2 separate regions of the Homo sapiens genome follow, and region 1 is linked to region 2. The links are contacts of gene promoters, found by promoter capture Hi-C in human tissues and cell types (Jung and others, 2019). All regions are on one chromosome and are shown on one strand. The core of a region is centred on a gene start or on the middle of the fragment in contact, and the rest is flanking DNA. Distances in the headings are between cores, read along the strand shown.

Region 1 (3,159 bases), core at 333-2,832, 470 kb after region 2:
AGGTGAAAAATGGCCACACATTCTTTGTGGTTCCTCTCATCAAGACATACGGTCTCTTTCTCATCCCTTGAATCCGGGCAAAGCCTTGTGATTTGCTCTGATCAAAAGAACTTAGTAGAACTGACGTTGTCCCAGCCCCAGTTCCAGGCCCAGAACCCAAGAAATCTTGCAGCTTCTACTCTCACTCTCCTGGAGCCCTAAGGCTGAAGCAGCCTGCTAGACAGGCCACCCCAACCAACAACCTGTCACCTGCCAGACAAGTGAGTCAGGCTGTCCTAGACCATCCAGGTGTAGCGGATGTGACAAATGACCACAGCTCCATGAGGGTCCGCAGGTGAGCCCAGTGCAGATTGCCAACCCACAGAATTGTGGACAAATACGTGACCTGTTTTTGCTGCCAAATTTTGGGATGGTCTGTTACACAGTGAAGGCTAGCTGATACGCAGTTCCTCATTTCTCCTCTGGTGATGAGATCCACTTTCATTTCAGGAGGCAGTGTGCCAGTCTCAGTAGATGGAACACAATCCACAATCGGTCTATTCAACCATGACAATTTTATTCCCTACTGTTGGGGAAGTGTCTCGAGTCAGACCCTCCCCACCAAGTGCAAAGAGAACGCATCTCAGCTATCCCTTCTGCCAGCCCAGCCTACGGGGGCCAGATGTATCTTCTGGGCTCTTAGAAGTGTCAGTCGGTGCCATGGGGACTGCTCCTACAAGTCTGGCGTGGATGCCCCCAGGTACACCCTGAGGTCCGAGAGGGTGGACTGCACAAGCTTGTCCAGGATGGCCCTTGCTGCAGCTACCGGTAGGCTGCGTGCCAATAACAGCCGCCAAAGGAGTAGAAGTAATCACCAACCTGGGTCCCTTTGATCCAGGACATCCGTGGGGCACACTGTCTGGGTCTTCCTAGGTCATGTCCACGAGGTTCTGCGTCTCGGCTGGGCCCAGCACAGATGGTGGCAGCTACGTGAGCAGCTCAGTGGCACGCCGTGCACCTGGGAATGCAGCCCGACTGGGCACTCCCGCCCTGCACACCGTTGCAGGGCCTGGGACCCGGGGCTGCCCCAGCCCACATCCACCCTGCCCGATCGATGCTCCTCCTGCACACAGCCCCGTTACCACTGCCACTGCCCCAAAGCATAAAAATTTTTTTTTTTTTTTTGAGATGGAGTTTTGCTCTTGTTGCCCAGGCTGGAGTGCAATGGCATGATCTCAGCTCACCACAACCTCTGTCTCCCGGGTTCAAGCAATTCTTCTGCTTCAGCCTCCCGAGTAGCTGGGATTACAGGCATGCGCCATTAATTTTGTATTTTTAGTAGAGATGGGGTTTCTCCATGTTGGTCAGGCTGGTCTCAGACTCCAGACCTCAGATGATCCGCCCGCCTCGGCCTCCCAAAGTGCTGGGATTACAGGCGTGAGCCACCGCGCCCGCCAATTAATTTTTTTTTTTTTTTTTTGAGACGGAGTCTCGCTGTGGCCCAGGCTGGAGTGCAGTGGCGCAATCTCAGCTTACTGCAAGCTCCATCTCCCAGGTTCACACCATTCTCCTGCCTCAGCCTCCCGAGTAACTGGGACTACAGGCACCCACCACCACACCCGGCTAATTTTTTGTATTTTTAGTAGAGACGGGATTTCACCGATTAGCCAGGATGGTCTCAGTCTCCTGACCTTGTGATCCACCCACCTCAGCCTCCCAAAGTGCCAGGATTACAGGCGTGAGCCACCGTGCCCGGCCAGTTTTGGGGTTTTTTTGTTTTTGTTTTTGTTTTTGAGACAGCGCCTTGCTGTGTCGACCAGGCTGGAGTGCAGTGGCATGATCTTGGCTCAGTGCAACCTCTGCGTCCCGGGTTCAAGCAATTTTCTTGCCTCAGCCTCCTGAGTAGTTGCAATTACAGGCGTGTGCCACCACGCCTGGCTAATTTTTTGTATTTTTAGTAGAGACGGGGTTTCACCATGTTGGCCAGGCTGGTCTCGAACTCCTGACCTCGTGATCCTCCCACTTTAGCCTCCCAAAGTGTTGGGATTACAGGCGTGAGCCACCGTGCCTGGCCACCCATCAGTTTTAAAATGTGCCTGAGTTAGAGCAGAACAGAAGCTGAGAAAAATTAAAAAGAAAGATAAATAAGTACAGTTTGCCCAAGTTGGGCCATAATATAGCCTGCTGGAGAACCAAAAAATCTGCTGTGACTTAATGTTTGAGAATCCCATTTCATTTCTTCTTATTTTCTGAAGAGCAAAGAAGCTTCCATAGATCCTATCAGGAATTGTCAAGCACATGGACCACTGTTTCAGATGGTGGCGACAGACCCAGTAACTTTCGTTGTTGTTTTGTTTTCTTTTGAAACAGAATCTCACTCTGCAGTCCAGGCTGGAGTGCAGCGGTGCAATCTTGGCTCACTGCAACCTCTGCCTTGTGAGTTCAAGCGATTCTCCTGCCTCAGCCTCTAGACTAGCTGGGATTACAGGTGCATGCCACCATGTCCAGCTAACTTTTTTTGTTTGTTTATTTGTTTGTTTGTTTGTTTTGAGACGGAGTCTTGCTCTATTGCCCAGGCTGGAGTGCAGTGGTGCAATCTCGGCTCACTGCAAGCTTCACCTCCCGGGTTCATGCCATTCTTCTGCCTCAGCCTCCCAAGTAGCTGGGACTACAAGTGCCCGCCACCACGCCTGGCTAATTTTTTTTTTGAGATGGAGTCTCGCTGTGTCGCCCAGGCTGGAGTGCAATGGCGCAATCTCAGCTCACTGCAAGCTCTGCCTCCCAGGTTCACGCCATTCTCCTGCCTCAGCCTCCCAAATAGCTGGGACTACAGGCACCCGCCACCACGCCCGGCTAATTTTTTGTATTTTTAGTAGAGACAGGGTTTCACCGTGTTAGCCAGGATGGTCTCGAACTTCTGACCTCGTGATCCACCTGCCTCGGCCTCCCAAAGTGCTGGCATTACAGGTGTGAGATACCGCGCCCAGCCAAGACTCTTTTTTTAAAAACAAACAAGCAAACAAAAATTATCTGGACATAGTAGAACCAGCCTGTGGTCCCAGCTACTGAGGAGGCTGAGGTGGGAGAATCGCTTGAGCCTGGGATGTTGAGGCTTCAGTGAGCCAACACTGTGCCACTCCACTCCAGCCTGGGCAACACAGAGAGACCATGTCTTAAATA
Region 2 (3,381 bases), core at 246-2,745:
GAGGAGTACTGGGGGCGGGATGTGTGTCAGGAAAACAACGTTTCTGTATAATTCATAAACATGTATGTTAAAAACAACGTGGCCATGACGGATCCTGGCTGAATGCAAACGGGGAACATAAACCTGAGTAATCAGGCGCATCACTGAACATCCCAGGCGGCCGCCCCTACCCTGGGGCTCAAAACCGGCTCCCTCTGCGAGGGTTTCCCAGGTTAAGCCATCAGGAAACAGGAAGACGCCTAAGAACGATACACTGGACTTTGGGGACTCGGAGGGAAGGGTGGGAGGGGGACAAGGATAAAAAGCTACAAATAGGGTGCAGTGCGTACTGCTCGGGTGATGGGAGCACCAAAATCTCACAAATCACCACTAAAGAGCTTACCCATGTAACCAAGTAACCAAACACCACCTGTACCCCAGTAACTTACGGAAAAATAAAAGAGGAAGACGCAGCTCTGCCTTCTCTGCACACCCTGGTAATACTAAGAAAAATGAAAACCAAAAAAAGGAGGCCAAGTTTGACATCCTGAAATTTAACAGGACGAGGCGGCTAAGAATTCAGCCACAAAATAGTTCCCGGGGAAGAAGCCGCGTTTGCTTTGAAACGCGGTAAGAAATGCCCCCGAACACCTGGGCTTAAATTACACCCAAACTCAATCATCGACTCGCTGCCACCGGAACACGCGCTCCCGAAAAACTGCACCCCGACTAGCCCTCGGCTACTCCAGGTGACAAACGGACAAAAACAAATCCTAAAGCCTCGCGGGAAAAAGACCTGAATCGTGGCCGACTTCTAGGACACCGGGGACCGCGCCGGTGCCCCCACTCCCGGCTGCCGGGAAGGCGAGGCGAACGCGCCCCCTTTCTTCCCCCGGGCGCCCGTCCCATCCCCTCCCCAGGGACCCCCTCCCTGCCCCGAGAACCCCCTCCCCTCCCCAGGTGCCCCCTCTCCCCCAGAGACCCCCTCCCCTCCCCAGGGACCCCCTTCCCTGCCCCGGGAACCCTTCCCCTCCCCAGGGACCCCCCTCCCTCCCCAGGGACCCCCTCCCCTCCCCAGGGACCCCCTTCCCTGCCCCGGGAACCTTTCCCCTCCCCAGGGACCCCCCCTCCCCGCTCCGGGAACCCCCTCCCCTCCTTAGGGACCCCCTCCCCACCCCTCCCCGGGGTCCCCCTGCCCTCCTCAGACGCCCCTTCCCCTCCCCAGGCGTCCCGCTCAGCCCGGGCGCCTTTCCCCCATAGGACCGCGGCCAGGCTCGTTGGGAGGCGGCGACGAGGACGCGGGCCCAGGCGCTGGCGGCTCCTCCGCGCGCCGCACAATGGGGGACGCGCAGGGAACGTCCCTCGGGCCGGGCCAGGGCCGCCGACCTTTGTCTGCCTCTCGCACTCCCTGCGCCGACCCGGCCGCCCAGACGGACCCCAGCGCCCCAACCCGCTACCCTCACGCCTGCCCCCAGCCCCTCACTCACCCCGGCGCCCTCCGGGTTTCTCTTTCGTACACCCCGCCCTCAGGCGGTGGCGCCGCGCCCCCTGGGACTTGTAGTCTTTCTTCCGCCCCGGCCCCGGCGCCAGGCCCCGCAGCTCCCAAAGAAAACTACAACTCCCGGCGGCCCGCGCGAGAGCCGCCCTCGCCTGGTGGTACCATCGCGCGCGGCCGTGGGTGGGGCGCCGGGGCGGGGCGCGAAGCGCCCTGGGAAATGTAGTCCTAGAAGAACCAGCGCATGTCTCGGGTCCCTGACACGGAGGGACTACATTCCCCCGGATTCCTCGCGCGCCGGCTGCTTGGCGTTGCCGGGAGACGGGGCGGGGCGTCGTCGGGGTCTCCCGGGCGACCGCACAAGCGTCGGCGTCCTTAGCGTTCCGCCGGTTTAGGCGGAGGCGGAGGCGGAGCGTTTGGGGGCGGCCGGGGCGGCTTCGGCTTCATCGGAGAAGGCGGCGCGGCTGCACCAGGTTTGGCCGCGGGCGCGCGGGGCCAGCGCCCTCCAGACCCACGGAGCGCCCCGAGCGCCTCGCGAGCCGCCGCCAAATGCGCCCCAGGTCCGCGGCCGGCGCCAGTGCTGGGACCTCGGCGGCCGGTGTCGGAGCGCGGCGGGAGAGACCCTGCCTTGGGTGCGGGACTGGGACGGCTCGGACCCAGAGGGCTCCCGGGGCTTCGCCTCTCGGACGGGTCAGGGCTCTGCGGTCTCAGGACGCTCCCCCGTGAGTCTCGGCGGCCCCGGGGTCTGGGCGGCGTCGCTGCCCCACAGGCCGGGCGCGTGGGTTTTTCCGGGGCTCTGCCTCTGAGCCACCCTCGGAGAAAAGACAGCTCTGTGCGTCCCGCGGCGCCCGCAGCTTTCGGCAAACATGTTTAAAGGAGCTCCCCGAAGGAACTGGGGACGTCCGTCCGCTCATCAAAGGCTTCAATCCTGTCGGTGTCCCCGGGCCCTCTCCTAGCTGGGCCAGCGCGCAGGGTGGGGGGGCGCTGCAGGTGTCGCGGCCCCCCCCAACCTCCGCAGACCCTTCCAACCCCTCAGACCCCCCAAAACCCCCAGATCCCCCAACCCCCCATATACCCCCAACCCCTCAGACCCCCCAACCCCCCAGACCCCCCAACCTCCCAGGCCCCCAGACCCCCCAGCTCCCTTGCTCCCGGGAGCTCCCAGGCCCGTCCTGCATGCGCCTTGGGGTTGTTCCTCCTTGATGGACGCCGCCTCCGGGTTCCATCCCAAGTTTAAATGCCAGAGATTTCAATGGAAATAAAGCCCCCATCTTAACAGCGTGAGGATGTTTTGTAAACAGTATTGGGGACAGCTGGGGAAGTCACATTTGTGTCTTCTCTTTAGAGGGACAGTGTTCGCCTGAGGGTCCATCCCAGGGTTCCCTCAGGGCCTCTGGAGGAGTTGATGCCACCAGTGTCTGGCCGTGGGACACCTGGGCGTGGGCGCCCAGCACCAGGGGTTCGCTGACAGCTGCAGGGTTTCCGGCCATGCGCCCGCGGACGTGCAGCTTCTGTGTCGGTCCCATTAAGAGGAACCTGGCCTGGGCGACGTTTGAGGACCACGGGGAGGACACAGTCGCGGTCCCCTTCTCGGAGTCCAGTCTGTGCCACAGGCTCTTGCCGTCTGCGGCAACTCATTGTGGAGCTGAGCCAGTGTTTCCACTTCCTTTTTGTTTTTTTGTGTTTGAGAGGATTTCACGCTGTCACCCAGGCTGGATGCAGTGGCATGATCGTGGCTCACTGCAGCCTGGACCTCCTAGGCTCAAGCGATCCTCCACCTCAGCCTCCAGAGTAGCTGGGACCACGGGTGTGTGCCACCATGCCTTGACACATATTTCTTTATTTTTTTGTAGAGACGGGGGTCTGTTTTGCCCAGGCTGGTCTCAAACTCCTGGGCTCAAGCAGTC

The links. The method cuts DNA at HindIII sites, captures the fragments that hold promoters and counts their contacts. A contact is called where the count stands out against the background at its distance.
Region 1: a fragment that was not itself captured here is called in contact with the fragment with the promoter of C1orf159 in region 2 in 1 of the 25 tissues and cell types used here (dorsolateral prefrontal cortex).

Annotation. Positions count from the first base shown.
Region 1 is chr1:1,582,795-1,585,953 of GRCh38, forward strand. No RefSeq gene overlaps it. Among named protein-coding and RNA genes, the nearest start is that of SSU72-AS1, 9.4 kb to the left of the region's middle. The HindIII fragment of the contact is 3,924 bases long and covers 1-3,159 here.
Region 2 is chr1:1,114,594-1,117,974 of GRCh38, forward strand. It overlaps C1orf159 (chromosome 1 open reading frame 159), which reads right to left and starts at 1,496. Exons shown (of 10, transcript NM_017891.5): 1 at 1,467-1,496. RefSeq lists silencers at 1,187-1,786, 1,957-2,076, 2,117-2,166. The HindIII fragment of the contact is 14,802 bases long and covers 1-3,381 here.